Regions from separate parts of the Homo sapiens genome. Here regions 2, 3 and 4 are each linked to region 1. Evidence: promoter capture Hi-C in 16 types of primary human blood cells and fetal thymus (Javierre and others, 2016). All regions are on one chromosome and are shown on one strand. Each heading gives the region's core, a stretch centred on a gene start or on the middle of the fragment in contact. The rest is flanking DNA. Distances are from core to core; before and after follow the strand shown.

What was found. Contacts are between HindIII fragments. The CHiCAGO score rates a contact against its expected background, and 5 or more counts as called.
Region 2: a fragment that was not itself captured here is called in contact with the fragment with the promoter of MTF2 in region 1 in 1 of 17 cell types (megakaryocytes); the score reaches 6.5 in megakaryocytes.
Region 3: a fragment that was not itself captured here is called in contact with the fragment with the promoter of MTF2 in region 1 in 4 of 17 cell types (naive CD4 T cells, megakaryocytes, naive B cells and 1 more); the score reaches 7.1 in naive CD4 T cells.
Region 4: a fragment that was not itself captured here is called in contact with the fragment with the promoter of MTF2 in region 1 in 8 of 17 cell types (naive CD8 T cells, total CD8 T cells, naive B cells and 5 more); the score reaches 7.4 in naive CD8 T cells.

Annotation. Positions count from the first base shown.
Region 1 is chr1:93,076,702-93,081,469 of GRCh38, forward strand. MTF2 (metal response element binding transcription factor 2) reads left to right here and starts at 2,582. Exons shown (of 15, transcript NM_007358.4): 1 at 2,582-2,830. The coding sequence starts at 2,826. RefSeq lists enhancers at 2,145-2,394, 2,331-2,625. The HindIII fragment of the contact is 3,598 bases long and covers 1-3,399 here.
Region 2 is chr1:93,817,854-93,822,785 of GRCh38, forward strand. It overlaps a transcript of BCAR3 not described here. Among named protein-coding and RNA genes, the nearest start is that of MIR760, 27 kb to the right of the region's middle. The HindIII fragment of the contact is 2,848 bases long and covers 118-2,965 here.
Region 3 is chr1:93,622,744-93,627,958 of GRCh38, forward strand. The region is part of intron 3 of BCAR3 (BCAR3 adaptor protein, NSP family member); the gene reads right to left. Among named protein-coding and RNA genes, the nearest start is that of BCAR3-AS1, 33 kb to the left of the region's middle. The HindIII fragment of the contact is 2,518 bases long and covers 600-3,117 here.
Region 4 is chr1:93,837,435-93,842,495 of GRCh38, forward strand. It overlaps a transcript of BCAR3 not described here. Among named protein-coding and RNA genes, the nearest start is that of MIR760, 6.9 kb to the right of the region's middle. RefSeq lists a silencer at 1,946-2,146. The HindIII fragment of the contact is 1,011 bases long and covers 2,026-3,036 here.

The DNA.
Region 1 (4,768 bases), core at 1,332-3,831:
TCTTGGCTCACTGCAATCTCGGCCTCCTGGGTTCAAGTGATTCTCTGCCTCAGCCTCCCAAATAGCTGGGATTACAGGCATGCACCACCACGCCCGGCTAATTTTTGTATTTTTAGTAGAGACAGAGTTTTGCCATGTTGGCCACGCTAGTCTGGAATTCCTGGCCTAAAGTGATCTGCCCCCCTCAGCCTCCCAAAGTGCTGGGATTACAGGCGTGGCCACCGCGCCCGGCCAGAGTGCAATTTTACTATGTGTCTGGAAGAGAGGGGAACCAGAATACTTATGAACCACCCTAAGGATGATCACAGAAATACATACAACAATAAAGGGTACAGTTTACTCTGATCAGAGTTCACTCTATATTTCCGAGGAACCACAACTACAGCAGGTTTTTTTTTTTTTTTTTTTTTTTTTTGAGGCAGTCTCACTGTGGCTCAAGTAAGCCTACCACCTCAGCCTCCTGAATAGCTGGGACTACAGGCAGGGGCCCAGCTAATTTTTAAATTTTTTGTAGAGACAGGGTCTCACTATGTGGCTCAGACTGCATACTGGTCTGGAACTCCCCAGCTCAAGTGATCCTTCTACCTTGGCCTTTCAAAGTACTGGGATTACAGGAGTGAGTTGCTGGTGGCTGGCTGACAGGTATTCTTTATACTTGACTGTGACTCCCTGAGTGTCCTTAAATCTCTGAACACTTGGTTTGCTTACACCTTTGTACTCACACGTTTGCACAGAAAAATAACACTTTTTTTTGATAGAGGCATAATTTACTTCTCTAATGTATAAGGGATTAGAATACTTTTGTGTAGCCAAAGAGCCTAAATTATTAGAGTTTCTGAGGTGGAAATGAATGCGTCTGAAGTATTGAATCACTGAAGATTTTGAAGTTGAGGCTTGGTGACCACTTTACAGAAATGTTGAGGAAAACTTAGACCAAACGTTCTCCAAAACAGATGTTCTCTGATTAGGCTTAGCTGCACAGCAAATATATCTGTTTGTGCAATATCTTTATTAATTTTTGTACTGCATCTACTTTTTAATATTTTATTTATTTATTTACCTTAATGCCACGTTCCTGAATGGGAATGCATCTACTTTTTTTTTTTTTTTTTTGAGATGGAGTTTTTGCTCTTGTTGCCTAGGCTGGAGTGCAATGGCACGATCTTGGCTCACCACAACCTCTGCCTCCTGGGTTCAAGCGATTCTCCTGTCTCAGCCTCCCGAGTAGCTGGGATTACAGGCATGTGCCACCACACCTGGCTAATTTTTGTATTTTTAGTAGAGACGGGGTTTCTCCAAGTTGATCAGGTTGGTCTCGAATTCCCGACCTCAGGTGATCTGCCTGTCTCGGCCTCCCAAAGTGCTGGAATTACAGGTGTGAGCCACCGCGCCCGGCTGCATCTGCTTTTTTTAAGTCAAAATTTTCCTCAGCCAACGTATGAAGGTCACTTAAGACGAATTTATGAGAGACGATGATGAGAATTGAAATAAAGTGAAACCTGAAAGGTAGTAGGTAAGTAGATACAGTGAGGGTACAGTAAGAAGACAGACTTAAAAGATTAGGACTATTATTCAGGAGAAGCAGAGGAGTGGAAGGGTATGACCACAATATTTAAAGTATTGAATGGTATTGGATAAAACGAATATGCTTATTTGCCAAATTCTGAGATCACAGGCTGAGGGAACCCCTTTTGAAGTATGAGCCAAATGAGCTTAGACCACAAAAGGTACTTTTTCAGAGACAGAAAAAATATGGTGTTCACTATCCCTGTGGCATAATATGGGACAAAAATATAAAATGGCTTTAAAAATATTTTGACGAAATTATAAATAAAGATTCCACACGTGGCTACTAAGAGGAGCTGGGTTGTATCTAGGTGTAAGTTAAAGAGACAAGCATACAATCTCACAGCTTGTCAGTTGGGACCCCTGTAGGCAGCAGAATCTGGGCAGGCTAAGGGTCTGCACTAATAAACAATTCTGTTTTCTTAAACCATTTTGCAGGGGACTATTCTCAGATTTCATTACAACTAGGAAGGACTGCAAAGCGGGTAAACAGAAAACAACCTTTCATCGTTAGGAAAAAAATCGTCTGAAAGTCTTTCATAAAAGCAGCTCCTGATAAGGAGTTTGGGACTGGACAGTGAATCGCTGAATAAAATTTAATCTCGACATCCTGGGTCTTCTCCCCTCTGAAGGAAATTCTAACAGCAGGCCTTAGGATGAAAGTAGAGGAAACGTGCTTCAGTTAAGGTTTTCTCCAGGGAAAAGAAATCGGCCCAGCAAGATGCACAGAGCACCGTTACGACCACGCACACCGAAGGTCGCACACGACCCTTTTCCTGTATAACAGTGCCAGCCTGCCGACGATCAGGAGCGCAGCTTTCACTATTGTGTTAGCCCCGGCGGCGGAAGGACTGAGCCTCACTGCAACGTTAAAGAGTCCTTCTTTGTTCAGCCCCAGTCGGGGACGCAGGGCGCGGTGTTCCTCCGCGCTCGCCGCGCAGTCCCTGCCCCCCCGCGGCTTTGGAGAGCTGCCATTCGGCACCGGAGTCGCTCCGCGCTCCCAGAATGCACCGGCAGTCCGCGGGAAACCAAAATGGCGAGGGGCTGTATTGAAGTGGGCTGTGTTTGAGGCCGGTGTAAGAACGCTCATTCTACCCCCAACCCTTGTCTCCAAGGACCTCGGTTTGTGCGTGCATATGTGCCGGGTACCCGGTGGGGCGGGTGCCCAGTAAGTGCTCGGACTCGCAGGGGAAGCGCCCACGGGGACGGATTGGTTGTTTTTTCCTGTATGAAGCGGTTGGCACCACTGAAGTGACCGAATGAGGTGAGAGACCTTGGCCTGGGAACCGACTCTTCCGGAGGAGATGGGGGTTGGGGGAAGGAGGAAGAAAGGAAGCAAGTATAAAAGGGAAAGATGGAGGACCAAGGTGGGGGTGGGGGCTCCTGTATGTGGGTGCCTTTGCATTTATGTGTATATTGAAAAGAATGGATGAAGAGGAGTAGTCAGTTGAGTGTTGGGAGAAAATAGGGACTAAAGGAGCGAGGAGGTCGTTGGGGGAGTCTGTTGGAGGAACAAGATGAAACGTTGAGACGGGGAAGCTGTGTTTGGAGGGCAGGAAGGAACCTGGGGGCGGGAGACGGTTGGAGGGGCAGGATGAACCTGGTGACGAGGGGGTGGGGAGCCGAGAGGAGGAGCCGTTGGGAAATGGGGGCTGAGGGAAATGTGGGGAGCAGAGTGGAGGGCTGCCTGGGACCTTAGCAGTGCGCAAAGGGAAGTAGCAGCTTGGAATCGGAGGGTGGAATTGTATGGAATTGGAGTAAAGGGGGTCGAGTGTAAGTGCTGGTAAGGATAAGGGGAACACACTGAAGTGGAGGTTGGAAGCACAACCTGAAAGCTTAAAGGGAAGCGGTGGGAGGGAAAGTGAGATGGGGGAAAGCTAGGTAGCTTATATTTGGAGCTCACCAAAAATATGAGGCTTTTCTTGTGTTTAATTAAACCTAACTCATATAATCTACGTCTAGGATGTAGATTTGTATTGTATTCATTTTTACAACTGAGGTAATTACGGCTCAAGGAATTTTAACCAATTTGCCAAGATTTCTTAACATATTTCGGTAGTGCCAGAACTCTAACTCTGTGTTTTACAATCTGGTGTCCTTGGTTGCTAGAATTTTTCTTTGGAAGCAATTAGAGGGAACAGATGGATTTATCGGGGTAATCTGACTAACAGCAAGGGTTTGTGAACAATGGGAAAAGGCTTATGGAATGTTACTCTATTCTTTAAAACATTTAACTTTGGTTAAAGATAGAAACCATGTAACACTAACTTAAATGTGAAAACCTAGCTAGGCCTGTGTGTAATACATAGGAAGGCACCATGTGAGGTCAGTACAGAGCTAGAAATATGTAAATAGTACCTGATTTAATTTGACTTCAGAACCTCCGGTAGTAATAGTAGTTACTTTCTCCTTCAGATGGATTCCATGTGACCCTCCTGTATACCTAGCCTACAAGCTGGTTTCAATTTCCATGGTTTCATTCTCTCTTGGGAATTCCTTTTTTTTTTTTTTTTGTCAGTAAATTTCAAAGATAGTTGTATGTAGAAGTAGTTAATGTGGATAAAATGTAATTAAATTCACAATAACCTTTTTAAGATTTGAAAATGCTTTAAAGGGAGTTGTTTTGACTGATGGCTTTAAGTGCCCTATAGTTTAGTTATAACTTGAGAGGGAATACAAAATGACTTGTTTTTTCAGATTCCTAAATATAAAAATGTATTTGAATTCACATTTTAAAATTAGTTCACCTGCAGTTTTTTAAAGTGCTAAAAATGTTCTAAATATTTGAATTAAGAACACACCTGCTTCCTGATACTACATTTATAATGTTAGTGGGTATTAACGGAAATGTGTAACTATCAGGATGAAATGCATACACAGTTTTAGAACTAGTTGTACAGAAATCATCTTGTTAAGCCTTTTTTCTAGATGACACAATTATATTTAATAGTTCTTTAAATCATCCCCGTTGCCTCAAAGCTCTGTTAGGAAAGACATTCTGTGTATTTTACTGTGGGTCATTAACTCTTTGATTTCATGGATTATAAATATTCCTTTTTGTGGGATCTTTGAAGGATAATTTGCTTTAATCATTTTTCAGCATAATCTTTACATCTGACTTGAGGAAACTGACAGTATATTGTTAATCTATATTTTAACAGAGAAATTTGCCTCTGAGGAGTTGCCATGACCAACATCTGTA
Region 2 (4,932 bases), core at 292-2,791, 740 kb after region 1:
GCTCTCCTCCTCCCTGCTTTCCCACCCTCCCAGTTCACCTTCCCCTAGACCTCCTCAGCCCTCTTGGCTCTGCCAGTCCCAAGGAAGCTTTGCTCCCCGCCGCCCCACACCACACGAAGCTTCCCAGCCTACTGAGACTTTAGTGACTGCTCCCTCCTTACCGGTGACGCACTGGTTCCCAGGGCCCCTGGTTTGAGTGTTAACCACGTGCCACTTTATGGTACTCTTAATACTGCTGACTTTGCTATGTTATTTTTCATGTGCTAGTGCTTCCCACAATTAGATTATAAGCTCTTTGAGTGCCAAGTGTCTCCTTTTGTACTTTGTGACAGTTTTCTTAACACGTACATCAGTGCTTTACACACACAAGGAGTTCAGAAATATCTGTTGGTTTCTGTGTGATTACACTCATGAGAGACTGATATCAGCACTGTTAGCCAGGATCACACTAAAGCACAAGTGCCACACAGCTGACGTTAATCTTCAATGTCTACCGCCTCCTTCTCAGGGCCTTCCTCTTCTGCCTGCAGGCTAAATACCTTGGTCTATGCCTACCACGCAAGTCCCCACCTCAGGACTGGTCTGACTCAGTGCTGTGTACCTGGGCTGCCTACTGTCGTGGTTGTGGGTGTCTCCAGAGCGGAAGTGTCTGGGTTTGTATCCCAGTTCTGCCACTTCCTAGCTGTGATCTGAGCAAGCTACTTAACCACTCAGAGCCTGTTTCCTCACCTGTAAAATGGGAGGTAACAGTACTTTCCATCATTAATCAAGTATTTACTGAGGACCAGGCATTTGTTTCATTATATGTCAGGCATTATTCTAGGTGCTGGGTATAAAGCAAATTCTCACCAACAGGGAGCTCACATTCTAGTGGAGAGACACAGACAGGTAATGAAGTAAACATAGTGTGTCAGAGAGTGGTAAGTGCTGTGTAGGAGAGTAAGTGGGTGGGTGATGAATGGTTTTAAAGAGCAGGCTAAGGAGGCACTGGAATACAGCCCCATGGGTCAGTAATGATTAAATGAGCAAATGAGTGTAAGCACCTAAAACACTGCTTGGTACATAGTTAAGTGCTGAAGAATTGTTAGATATTAGGTATCAGCAATGTATATATGATATTTTTGTAAATAGAAAAGTATCAAATGTTTGTTATAATAATGTTGAGATAGAAGCAATGATCCACATGTTGTTATAATTGTATACTCTGTGGGTTGTCCTTTTTTTTTTTTTCTGAGATGGAGTCTCACTCTGTTGCCGGGCTAGAGTGCAGTGGTGTAATCTCGGCTCACTGCAATCTCCGCCTCCCCGGTTCAAGCCATTCTCCCGCCTCAGGCTCCCAAGTAGCTGGGATTACAGGCGTGTGCTGCCACACCCAGTTATTTTTGTATTTTTAGTAGAGACGGGGTTTCACCACGTTGGCCAGGATGGTCTCAATCTCCTGACCTCGTGATCCACCCACCTCGGCCTCCCGAAGTGCTGGGATTACAGGTGTGAACCCCCACGCCCAGCCGGGTCGCCCATTTTAAACTGACTTTGCTAACCAATTGATACTTCGGGAGCACCTTCCCTGGCCACTCCTCCCACTGGTTACCAAGCCCACTTGCTTTTGCTTTTAACTACCAAAATACATGCGCTTTAGCAAAAGATACAAAGGTAGGTTGCTTCCTACTCTTAGCTCTCTTCTGGATCTTTTATTTTTATTTTTTATTTTTTGAGGAACAAACTTACTACTTGAAAGTGGATTAAAATTCTAATCCTAAAATGTGACCTGTATTAAATATTGGACCTTTGCAACTTACAGAGAAAATTCAGGCAGACGCTGCTGGGTGCGAGTATCTTTTCACCTACCACAAACACTATAACTTTGCCAGATTTATTTATATATTTCCAGTTATTTATTTATTTATTTTTCTTTCCAACTTTTATTTTAGGTTCAGGGGTACAAATGCAGGTTTGTTACATGGGTAAATTGTGTGTCATGGGGGTTTGGTGTACAGATTATTTCATCACCCAGGTAATGGGCATCATACCTGATAGACAGTTTTCTGATTCTCACCCTCCTCCTATCCTCCACCCTCAAGTAGGTCCCAGGGTCTGTTGTTCCCTCCTTTGTGTCCATGTGTACTCAATGTTTAGCTCCATTTATAAATGAGAACATGTGGTATTTGGTTTTCTGTTCCTGCATTAATTTGCTTAGGAGCCAGATTTATTTAACAGTAAACTCTAAACTCAGAACTCACTCACACAAACACAGTTAAAGATGCTACTCAAGTATCCAGAGTCCATCAGGACCTCAATTTCTGTGGAAATTGGTAAGAATACCAAAAGAAAAACTAGTTTTCGATGCTCTTAATACTTCTGACACCAAAATGTGTAGGTTTTCCAAACTAAGTACTTGTACTTCTTTAGTTCTCTGCAGACACCAATTAGGATCTTACCATTTAACTCAATTCTGATACTAACTACCTGGAATTAGCACAAACCCTACAGGTTAAGGGATCAGCCCCATAAAACTGACCCCCACTTCAGATGCCAATCACAAGTCTCAGGTCTCCTGTATTCCTGACTGACCAGCTATAAATTGGGGGTTCCCCAAATTCCCTCCTCAGGTTCAAAAATTTGCTATAATGCTTCTCATAACTCAGTGAAACACTTTGCTTACTCTGATTAGTTTATTATGGAGAATAAAACTCTAGGAGCAGCCAATGAAAGAGATGCATAGGGCAAGGTATGTGGGAGGAGGTGAGATGCTTCCACACTCTCTGGGCATTTGCCTTCCTGACATGTGGATGTGTTCACCAACCTGGAAGCTCTCTGAATAACGTTGTTTAGGGTTTTTGTGGAGGTTCCGTTACATAGGCATGATTGATTAAATCAGGGGGCATTGGTGATTGGACTCAGTCTCCAACTCCCCTCTTCCCAGAGGTCAGACGATGGGGCTGAAAGTTCCAACCCTCTAATCGTAAGCTTGATTCCTCTGGTAAGCCGACCTCATCCTGAAGCTGTCTAGCTCCCCCACCCCCACCCAACCTAGAGTTACCTCATTAGCATTACAAATTACATCTTATCTCTCCAGAAATTCCAAGGGTGTTAGAAGCTCTTATAGCAGGAACTAGGGACCAAGACCCTAGTTACATTATAAAAAAACAAAACAAAAAAAACTCCTGTCACCCCTATCACTCCGGAAATTACAAGAGTTTTAGGAGCTCTGTGCTAGGAACTGGGGCAGAGACCAAATGTATTTTTCTTATTTTGTCACAAGTACATAAGAGCCTTACTCGACCTTCAAATCATCATTTGCCTCTTGAAGGTCGTTCTTCAACACTGAGGGGTCTGGGGAGGGTAAATCGGCTGTCCTCCCTTGAGACTCCCTCAGGGATCCTTCTAACCCAGATTCCATTGAAGTTCAGAGATTAGAGGACAGGAATCTCCTGCAGAGGCCAGGAGCAAAGCCTCCTCTGACCTCACCAAGGAGATGACCAATAAGGGAAAGGCCTGTAGAGAGCTCTGTGAAACTGTGGGTGGATGTCTTCGATTTCTCTTTAGAGATAGCCCTTGGATGCAGATGGAGTTCAGAGGTGGTGGTAAAGAAACCTTCAAAAATGTCCACGGTACACATCACGCTGTTTGCCCACACTAAATACCGTAGCCCCAAAGACTACAGGGGCCTTTCAACATGCAGTTACTGGGTGGTGAAATGTTAGAGCCATTTGAAAAGTGAGCAAACGTCTTGGAATCACATTTTGGCATGAGGTCACTCTATTTGTATTTGTGTCTACAGTTGTCCCTCCATGAGGATGCTAATAATAACCACCACCAAATAAAAAGAATTAGCATTTACTGAGCACTACACATATACTTAGCACAGTACTCCCTGTGTTGTGCTAAGCACTTAGCATACCTTATAATCATCACAAAAATTTAATGAAGTAGGTACTATTATTAGACCCATTTTTACCATTATTATGCCCATTTCACAGAAGAAGAATCAATTAGATTGCTCAGAGAGTTAAATATCTTGCCTGAGGTCACCCAGCCTGTAAGCATGAGAGCTTGGGTGTGTGCTTTCTGCACCTTGTATTTAACCACTGTACCAGTCTGCAATAACTGAGTCACTTGCAAAGGAGCACCTTCTAATTCCACCTGGAGGCAGGAGCCAAGCAAGGTTAGGGAAGCTGGGATATGCTTGAAGAGAGTGTTAGTATAGCAAGGGCTGTCTCAAAGAACAAGGCAGCAAGGGCCAGAAACAGTGTGGGCAAAGGCATTGAGGCATTAAAGAACAGAGAAGGTTCAGATGGACATTGCAATCCATCTTTGTGATGTTTTTTTTTTCTTTTTTTTTTTTTGAGACAGTCTCTCTATCACCCAGGATGGAGTGCAGTGGTGTGATCTCGGCTCACTGCAACCTCCACCTCCCAGGTTCAAGCGATTCTCCTGCCTCAGCCTCCCAAGTAGCTGAGATTACTCAGCTCACCATCTCGCATGGCTAATTTTTTTTTTTTTGAGACGGAGTTTTGCTCTTGTTGTCCAGGCTGGAGTGCAATGGCGTGGTCTTGGCTCACTGCAACCTCTGTCTCCCAGGTTCATGCGATTCTCTTGCCTCAGCCTCCAAAGCAGCTGGGATTACAGGGGTCTGCCACCATGCCTGGCTAATTTTTATATTTTAGTAGAGATGGGGTTTTGCCATGTTGCCCAGCCTGGTCTCAAATTCTGAGCTCAAAGTAATCTGCCCGCCTCGGCCTCCTAAAGTGCTGGGATTACAGGCGTGAGCCACCATGCCCAGCCAGCAATACTTTGGATATGGCTGGAGAAAGGCACTTGAGTATTGCTGAAAAGATGAGGCTGGAGGAGCAGGCAGGGACCTGAACATGAAGGGCATTTGATGTCTTGCTACAGAGTTTGATTTTTTTTTTTCCTGAAAGTGAGACAAAG
Region 3 (5,215 bases), core at 609-3,108, 550 kb after region 1:
GTCAACTGCCAAGCATAATGCTGTCTGCAGGAGTGACATCCAGAAGGTCAATATTTGCCCTTCCTGGTGCCAAGGTGGGGACAATAAATTCCTTTGCCAGTGGCTCAAAGATTTGGGTACGCCTTGCAGTGTATATCCAAATGGGTGGAAGGGCTGGGTGGAGGAAGGGAGAATTACTAGGGAGAGCAGCAGAAACCCATCTGGGTAACTATCCAGGAACACCAGGACTCCCGGTTGGGTCACTTGTGATAAGATGTGGGAATCCATCCAAGGACAAGCTATAGATGGGCTGGGGATCCACAGCCCCTCTGGACATCCCCACCCCCTGCCCATAACTTCTCTGTAACAGTAGCAAATCTGGCAAACTTGGAGGCAATGGGTATCCAGTACATAAACCAGGAGGGAGATAAACTAGGGAAAGATGGGAATAGGACTTGAAAAGATTTTCTTTTTTTTCGCAAAACTTAGCATTCATGTCTCAACATTTTATATATGTATCCTGAATAGAGATAATAGAAATATAGCAGAATATACTTCTGATCCTAAAAATGTAAGGGGGGGAATGGTATAGATAGCAGGTGGTGGCTATTATATTTAAAAGCTTTACTGAGTAGCATGTGTATTCATCCTTTTAATGGATGTGTGAGCCAATCAGAATACTGAACACTGAATGGTCCAAGAGTAAGCAGGTGAATGACATGAGACCAAACAGAGTCCTTCCCTGAGACTTTTCAAACTAGGGCTGAGAGAGACATCCCCTTTTCCCCTTGGACCACAAGCCTTAAGAATATAAGCCTAGAGCAGCCCACAGCCAGGCCCTCACTGCATAAAGAAGCTGATGGAAGAGAATGTGGTCAAAGTGCTGAGAGAGGCAGATGCAAGAGACTAAGGTCCTAAAAATGTTTTCCTTCCCAGAAGTAGTCATCAACCCAGGCCACTCCACCCCTGCCCTTCCCAGAGGTAAGTTTCCTAGCTCACACCATCAATTTGGGTTTACAGGCTCACCTTATCAGTGTAAGATTAAAACTTGAGATGGAGATGTAACATACTGTGTCTGGCTCTGTTGGAGATTATGTGTATAAAATGTGATCTCTGTATCTGAGAAATGCTACAAGGAGCCAACATGAACTGATGTTACATGAAAACATGCATATTATACACCCATTAATAATAGGGTTGTACACTCATGTGTCAGCAATGAATGGAAATTAATGGTGTTTTGCAGTCTATTCCAGGGACTTCCATGGAAATAATTGAGTTGCCTTGAGTTTTCAAGGATAACAATACACGAATTTGCCTCTAGGAAGAGGGAGAGGGATTCATGTTGTTGGAATGTACTGTGCCACTGGTGTAGGGGTGAGTTCTGCTCCCACACCCAGCACCTCCCAGCCAGGGGAAAGCACAAACAAACTGCATTCTCAGCCCTGCTTATGTGGCATCAGCACCATCCTCAGCTCCTGGAGGATGTTTCCAAAAGGCTTTTCTGCTATGTGGAAGGCCACAGGACCCAATTTAGAGGTACTGGCTGAGACATCCCCTTATTGAGGCCAGGTGAGCTTTTCCCGGTACAGTCACCTGCGAGGGCAACCCTCATGACTTCTTTCCAGGTCAAAGGACAGGACGTTTACATCATCTCCAAATCACATTCAAATCTTCCCAAATGTGCTCCTTAGACAGTCCTTAGGTGGACATGGCCTGGAAGTTTGGGAGCCCCTGCTCTCAGTCTGTGTGGGCCCGTAGGGGTTTCCTTCTCCCCTTAAGAAGCCCTAGCTCCAACCCTGTCCTCCAGGGTTCAGCTACTGAAGCACTCATTAAAATGACTGGTGCCCTTGTCTGTTGGCCTCATGACCCATGTCTTATTGTCATCATTGGAATGCCTGAACATGATAGGGGCCCACTGAACATTTGGAGATAGCTCAGGGATTCTCAACCTGGGGTCCACAAACACCTGGAACTAAGATGTGCAGTAAGTGTGCATGCATATTTCTAGAGACGTGGCTCTTGTTCATGGTATTTGCAAGAAGGTAGGGGCCCTTCCCTGTCTCTCCAAAAATAGTTCAGAACTGCAGAGGCGTGAGGGATGACAGGCCACACAGAAGTCATGCTCCTCACCGGGTAAGCCAGCCTTGCCAGCCTCTGGCTGAATTACGGCTGCTTCCCACTTTGGCCCTAAGAGTCATTTTACGGCCAGGCGCGGTGGCTCATGCCTGTAATCCCAGCACTTTGGGAGGCCGAGGAGGGCGGATCACGAGGTCAGGAGATCAAGACCATCCTCACTAACATGGTGAAACCCCACCTCTACTAAAAATACAAAAAAATTAGCCAGGCATGGTGGCGGGGGCCTGTAGTCCCAGCTACTCGGGAGGCTGAGGCAGGAGAATGGCGTGAACCCAGGAGGCAGAGCTTGCAATGAGCCAAGATTGCACCACTGCACTCCAGCCTGGGTGACAGAGCAAGACTCCATCTCAAAAATAAAAGAGTCATTTTACTCTCTCAAACTTTGAACTAGCTGGGATTCCAAACTGGGAGAGGCTTCCAGAATGCAGTAATTCCCAACTCACACTACCTGTACTCTGTTCAAGTAATCCTGAAACCAGGAGGTAAGGGGACTTGACTCTATTCTGTCAAGGCTTTCATGTAGAGACCATGAGGAGACAGACAGGAGGGCACTGAACCAGGATGGATTCAGCTGGACCACACAGACCCCTTCAAAATACACCCACCTGGGCCTGGTAAAAATAAGAATCCGGCTGAAGACTGGTGGTCACAGGAAACAGTCCATCAGTTTCCTTATTTCTTCTGTACAAAAAGCTCTTTTGAGAATGTGAATGGGGGCTTTATATAGTAAGTTCTCATCCACAGGCTAATAAATATGTGAAATGGCTTCTCAGACCAGGTTCCTGCAGCCTGGACACTGAGGTCATTCAAGAAACAATTAGATGCCATCTGGAGAGGGCTGGGACTCGAAAGGAAATTGCCTTGAAGGGCCAAACAGCATGTTCTCATTCCCAGGGTCTGACACATCCTTATCTTCATTCACATAAAGGATGGATGGAGCTCAGCCAGCAAATCCACACTGGGAGCATAGAAGGAGCCAAGGCTGCAGCAATTAATAAAAGCTTAAGGATCAGGAGAATGCGCACTTCCAGCCTGTCCCAAGTAAATGGATCCCTGCAACAAATTTCTCCCTCGACTACACTTGCATACTCAGGCAGAGCACCTTGCCATAACCCAGCCTTGGCCTCACCAAGCTTGGGGTTTTCAGAGTTTTAATATAAAGCAATGAGAGGAGAGTTACAATTGCTTCTGGCCTAGCACTTTATAGTATATGATGAGCAACCAGATCTTTACAGTATATCATGACTTGGTTATGTTACATAGAGTTAGCATTTCCAGAGGTGTCACAATCCACTCCACTGCAAGGAACAGGCCCACAATTGAGAACCCTTACTTCAAGGATTGACTCTCAATTTTTTCCTTACTTTTAAATGAAAATTTAATGTCTTTCCTACATTAAAAACAAGTCTCTTTAAATGTAAATGCAACTGTTGGGCAAGCTGAGCTTAAAAGTAAACTTTGCTAGAGAAATAAATATGGATTTAGATAAACAAGAGGGGATTATTTGTGTTTTAAGTGTTTTTGCAGCTTTTAGTCTCTTAAGTAGCAAAAGACCCTCTGGTACAGTGGTGCTCAAAGTGTGTTCCACAGGCTGATCTGCAGGCTGGGGGGTCTTCTGGGGGTCTGAGAGGTCAAAACTTATTTTCATAATAATACAGAGACATTTTTTGCCTGTTTCACTGGGTTGACATTTATACTGGTGGTGCAAAAGCTATGATGGGTTAATTCCTGGTGCCTCAGCACAAAGCAAGGCAGAGGCACCAAACTCTACCAGGGGCCATTGCACTCTTGACTCCCATTGGCTCAAAGAATTGAAGAAAAATAGCCAGTTCCACCTAGAAGTCTTTGATGAAGCAGTGAGAATTACTCACTTTATTAAATATGGGCCCTCGAGTACATGTCTCTTTAGTATTCTATACAATGCAACAGGACATGCACAGAAAACAATTCTGCTGTGTTTCCAAGCACAGAGTTTGTGTGAAGGAAAAGCAACTGTGCAATTGAATTGTGGGCTCAACTAGCTGCTTTTTCATAGAGCACAATTTTTACTTCAAAGAATGTCTGACAAACTTGGTTATTCAGACTCGGGTATTTATTTGGCAGCCATTTTCTGAAAAACGAACAAAGTGAGCCTGTTACTTCAAGGAAAACAACAGACAGTGTTTGTTGCCAATGATAAAATTCCAGGTTTCAAGTGAAAATTAGAATTTTGGAAAACTTGTATTCACCACATGAGTTTGACAGCTTTCCAATACTTTAATGATTTTTCTGATGAGATCGGTGGTCATATTAATGAATGTGAGTTCTGATATTACATAGTGAAATATGTAACATTTATAAGATCTGCATAACTCGTAAACCAATATTTTTCAAATGGCCAATGCATGATGATATAAACTCATGCATGGGTAAAAGATCCATTCAAATTGCAAGAGAGATCCATTCAAATTGAATTTTAAGGAAATAAAACAAGTTCATTGACAGGATTTCAGAGTCCACATTGCAGTTAACTTTTAAGGAACTACAACTTGTTGAACTCTAGTATCAAAGACCAACAACTATAATGATCTGAAGAGGCTATTAAAATACTCCTCCCTTTCTGAACTGCATACCTGTGCAGGGCCACATTATTTGAGACTTCAACCAAAGTAACACAAAACAACAGAGTGAACACCGAAGCAAATATAAGAATCAAGTTGTGTTCTATCAGACACTAAAGAGATGTGCAAATATGTAAAACAATGTCATTCTTACCACAAATGTACATTCACTGGTATATAATGGGTTTATTCTTATTTTTAAATGAATTACATGAAATGCTCATCAAGTAAAAATAAGTTAAATAAACATTTTAAAATATTCCATTTTAATTTCTAACATGATGAGTATCAATAGCTAGAAGTCACATAACAAAAACTTTTTAGGGTCCTCAATAATTTAAAAAGTCTTGAGACAAATGAATTTAAGAACTTCTGCTCTAATATTTAAGTTACTTGCTTTACATAATTTTGATTGAGCCATAAGTTTTCAGTATCTTACCTATGGAGTAGACTAAGGGATATAATTACAGGGGTGTTTTTATTTTTATAAGTAACTA
Region 4 (5,061 bases), core at 1,281-3,780, 760 kb after region 1:
CAAAACTTCAATGAGCTTCTACCCACTCAGCTCCTGTTCCTGGTCTCTCCTTCCTTTTTACTTCTCTGTTGCTTCCAAATTTTGCCTCCAGATTTACTAGAGAGCCATATTAATCCATTCTCAGTTCGAATTACTTTAAATTCTCATTCCTTCTCCAGGATCCATCTTGTTGCAGCTCTGAGACTGCTGGGTCCCACCCCTTCAAGATTCCTAGCCAATCAGGCTCCACTTCTCTCCCTTTAACCAGTCCTGTAAGTAAGCCATATCAGGTTGGGTTGTAAACATTTCTTTGTTTTCTGGCTTGCAACTTGGAGCCACATTCTCACATTCTAGGTGCCATCTGTAATGAGTGGTACAGTGTGGGTACCAGCCCAGCAGAGTGGTGGGTAGCCTGCTCAATGAGAATGGGCTCTGGCCCTTACTTCATGTTAGTACCTATGAGCTCAGTATCAGCCCCAGTCATAAATGTACCTGAAGAATTAATTGATCCATTCAACACTCACATGAGTCATGTTCAAGGCTCTAGCATGGACTCTTGTTAGGACAGTATCTACAGGGTCTTTCCATGTATCATTATTGTTCGCCACAGGCTTAGAAATGACAAACGCTTGGCCAGCAAGTAAGATCATCCAGAGAAATGGGGGAAGGGATGGCCCCTTTCTTTCTCTCTTTATGCTCCTGGCCTTAGTCTGTTTTGTATTGCTATAAAAGAATACTGGAGACTGGGTAATTCATAAAGAAAAGAGGTTTGCTTAGCTCACAGTTCTGCAGGCTGAGAAGTTCAAGGGCATGGCCCTGCTTCCCGCAAGGGCTTTTGTGCTGCATCACAACATGGCAAAGGAGATCAAAAGGGAAGTGGACATGTGTGAAGGGGGAGAAAAACCTGAGGAGCATCCTGTCTTTATTACAACCCACTCCCTGGAAACCAATCCATATCCATGAGAAGTAATCCAGTCTAGCAACAGTGAGAACACATGTACTACTATGAGAGTAGCACGAAGCCATTCATAAAGGATCCACCCTCATTACCCAAATACCCCCCACTAGGTCTGACCTCCAACACTGCCACACTGGGGATCAAATATCAACATGCATTTTGGTGGGGACAAACTAACTCTATGCAAACCATAGCACCTCTCCATTACTAGTGTTGAAAAACTTGATACTAAGTAGCCCTCCCCTTTCTAGTCATTTATAGTCTGCTACTGAAGATCTGAGAAAAACGGGATGCTAACCTTACCATTCTACAAACGCAGTTATTATACAATTACACTGTCAGGGATCCAGAAGTAAATAATTTGCATTCAAGGGCAGACATTCCAAGCAAGGAGGGCAATTTCAGCCGGTGTATTTGCTACTGGTTGTGACTATCTACCTGATGTCTTGAGATATAATAAAATGCACAGAATGGATCATTTCAAGGAAAAAGTGGGCAAAGACCAAAAAATAGTGAAATAGTGAAATAAGGAGCATCCCAGTGGACCTCCATGTCCTTCAGATGAACTGGGACACATTCTGAGTCTAGTTCCAAATTTCAGTTATTTAGTTATAAATAAACAAAGCAATGGCAAATAAAAACTAAAAAGTGCCAGGCGTGGTGGCTCACGCCTGTAATCCCAGCACTTTGGGAGGCCGAGGCAGGTGGATCACCTGAGCTCAGGAGTTTGAGACCAGCCTGGTGAAACCCCATCTCTACTAAAAATATAAAATTAGCTGGGCGTGGTGGCATGTGCCTGTAATCCCAGCTGCTCAGGAGGCTGAGGTGGGAGAATCGCTTGAATCGTGGAGGTTGCAGTGAGCCGAGATTGTGGCACTGCACTCCAGCCTGGGCAAAAAGAGTGAAACTCAGTCTAAAAGAAAATAAAAAGAAAAAAACTAAACTAAACTAAAAAGTGGGCAATGTATCTAGTTAGATTCAGAAAGCTGAATGACAAACAACAAGATCTCAATTGGGACAAGGATTGCTGATCTCATCTATGGGTCTATAACAGGAACATACCATGGGGAAACAGCAGAAGTTGTGAAAGCTTAGATACCTCTGGCTGGAGGATTTTCTTTATCAATCAGCTTGGTACTCAAGTATGGTCATTGCCTAACTGAGGTCGTGGGCCTGATCCTTCTGACTCAGAAGAAGGAAGGCAGCCAGGAGTTATTCATCTGCCTCTTTTAGATTGGACTGAATCTACATTCTGTTAGACACCATTAGCAATATAACTTTTCTTCCTCAGTTCCCTCACAAAATGAGAAGTAAAAGGTCATAGTTTCCTCTGAAGTAATTTTTTTGGGCCAATATATCAGATTGATTCTGAGCTTTTTGATGGAGTTTTGAGATTTGCTTATTAAGGATTTAAATTCATGCTAATAACAGAAGCCCAAGTGGAATAATGAGAGCTTGAATACCTAAGCCCTAAACCAGTGCATTTTAAACTTTAGTGCAAATGAGTCACTGAGGGGATCTTAGTAAAATACAGATTTGATTCAGCAGGCCTAGGGTGGGGCCGAGAGCCTGCATTTCTAATCTGCTCCCAGGTCATGCTGATACTCCTGGTTCATGGTCAGCATTTTTGCAGGAAGGGCAGAGGGCATTATTTTCAAATTTGGCTACATATGAGAATCACCTAGGGAGTTTAAAAAAAATGCTGATGCCAGGGTCCCATCCCCAGAAATTGTGATTTAACTGGCCTCAGGGTGCATCCTGGGCATCAAGATTCTAGAGCGTGGTAGAGTTTGAAGACCGCTAGTCTAACAAGTCTGCTCCCAGTTGCTTGCTGATTCTCTCCTGATTTCTTTTCTAGGAGAAACTGCTGTAGTCCAGGGTATATGTGAACTTGGGGACAGGTGCCTGGATTCAATCCTGCTGCTTTCCCTGTGGTTTGCCTTCCCATCTGGGAATGGGGCAATGATCCTGCCTACCTTAGAGGGTTGTTATGAAGATTAAGTGAGGTCTGATATACATGAAGAACCCAGAAAAGTGCCTGGTGTGATGCGTTATTACTTCATTATTATTTTCAACTGCTAAACAATTAAGATTCACTAAGCTTTAATAGATGGTTATTTGTTGTGAGGCCCACGAGTGGGGCTCAGAATGCCTTTCCTTCCAAATATGCTTACCAGAAGAAGTCATCCTACTAGTTTGTTGAGAACTTAAAAGGCAGAGATGTCATTCTGAGGGGAAGAAATTTAAGACCTACTCCCCCAAACTGGGTCACTGAAAGCAGGAATTAGGACACTGAAGATCCACTTCTACTTCCACAAACGCATTCAGGCATCATTTATGGAGTGTCCACTGTGTACATGATATTCTGCCAAGCCTTGGGGAGAATTACAAAACAGTTAGAAAGCACGGATGTTTAGCTTTCAAGAGCTTCTGGTCTAATGCAGAAGATAAGCTAGGCACATAGTCAAGTAGCTTCCTTATTGCCTACAGGACTCATTCATTTGTTCAATCAATATTCAAAGCTACTTGTTGTGAGCTAGCCACAATGCTAGGGACTGAGGTTACAAAGATAAAGGAAAAGAAGACGTGCTCCCCCCACTTTCCTCCCACTCCCCCAAGATGCTTATTGTCTGGGAGAAGAGATAGAAAACCACACAGAAAATTATAGAGCTTTGAAAGTACCTTGGGAATCCAGGAGTCCCTCCCCACCACCAGCAGACTAGGCTGCAGAAGAATGTCTGGGAAAATTCTCGGAGGAGGTGACATGGGGCTGCTCAACCCCAGGCTCCTTAGCCTTGCATTTGAAGCGCTTCCGGATCTTTGCCCCACTGACTTTCTCAGCTGTATCTCTTAAGTCAAGCCCATTTCCTATACTCATTCATGCTCTGCTGTCTGACTTTGCTCAAGATTGCAAGGTCCATGGCAGCAAGGACAGCATTTGTCTTCTTCACCAAAGGGTCCCAAGAGACTTGTGGAGAGCCTGGCTAGTCTCAATGCTTAAATGAATGAATGTGGTCTTTTGTTTGTGCAGGGACAAGCCTGACCAGCCTTGAAGACCCAAGTAAGGCTCAGCCTTTGTTTAGCCATCTCAACAGCAGAGACAGGTAACTGCCACTTACAAGATACTCCTACATCCTTCCTGAGCCCTACTAGGCTTGGAAGCCTGGTCAGCCAGGCAACCAGCCATGAGATCTGGAATTGGTGGTGCTGCCTGCCTTAGACACGATATACCTGCATCTGCCTCAGTTTTCCTTCATGACTAGACTTCTTCTCTGAATACCACTCTACCAGTCTAAGTCTTTCAATCAGCCTCCCAAGCCTTCCCCTTTCGGGACCAGATCATGTTCCCTTTATCCTTAGCTGTGTTTCTTGTCCTCTTCTGAACAGGCTGATGGCACAGAACCATGCCTGACTTTGTCACCAGTACTCTGAACCCCAGTGACCTTCTTTACCAGCACCTGCTGCAACCAAGGTCAAGTTTTTGGCACCCTTTTAAACACTGTGCACTGAACTGCTCAGCCTCCATTATTTTCCCAGCCTTGTCCTATCTTCTTCCTCATAACTCCTGAGTCTGGTTTCTACCCTGCGCCCTAGCCACAGCATTCCTTGTACGCAAGTCAGTCCTAGGTTAGATAGCCCATTTCAAATGCAGCCTCCCTGTGTAATTCCCTCTCACAATGTAATCTTTCTCTTCCCTGAAGTCCCGTATCACCACACCTGCACCTCACTTAAAGACCTTTTTATTTTACATCACAGCTGTTTGTGTACCTGTCATCCTTTTTTTTTTTTTTTCCCCAGAGATGGAGTCTCGTTCTGTTGCCCAGGCTGGAGTGCAAATACTGTGATCTTGGCTCACTGCAACCTCTGCCTCCCAGGTTCAAGCAGTCCTCCTGTCTCAGCCTCCCGAGTAGCTGGGATTACAGGCATGTGCCACCACACCTGGGTAATTTTTATATTTGTAGTAGAGACAGGGTTTCACCATGTTGGCCAGGCTGGTCTCGACCTCCTGAGCTCAGGCAATCCACCCGCCTCAGCCTCCCCAAGTGCTAGGATTACAGCCATGAGCTACCTACCACGCCTGGACTATCATCCTTTCTATAAGGCTTGTAAGCCAAGCACATGTG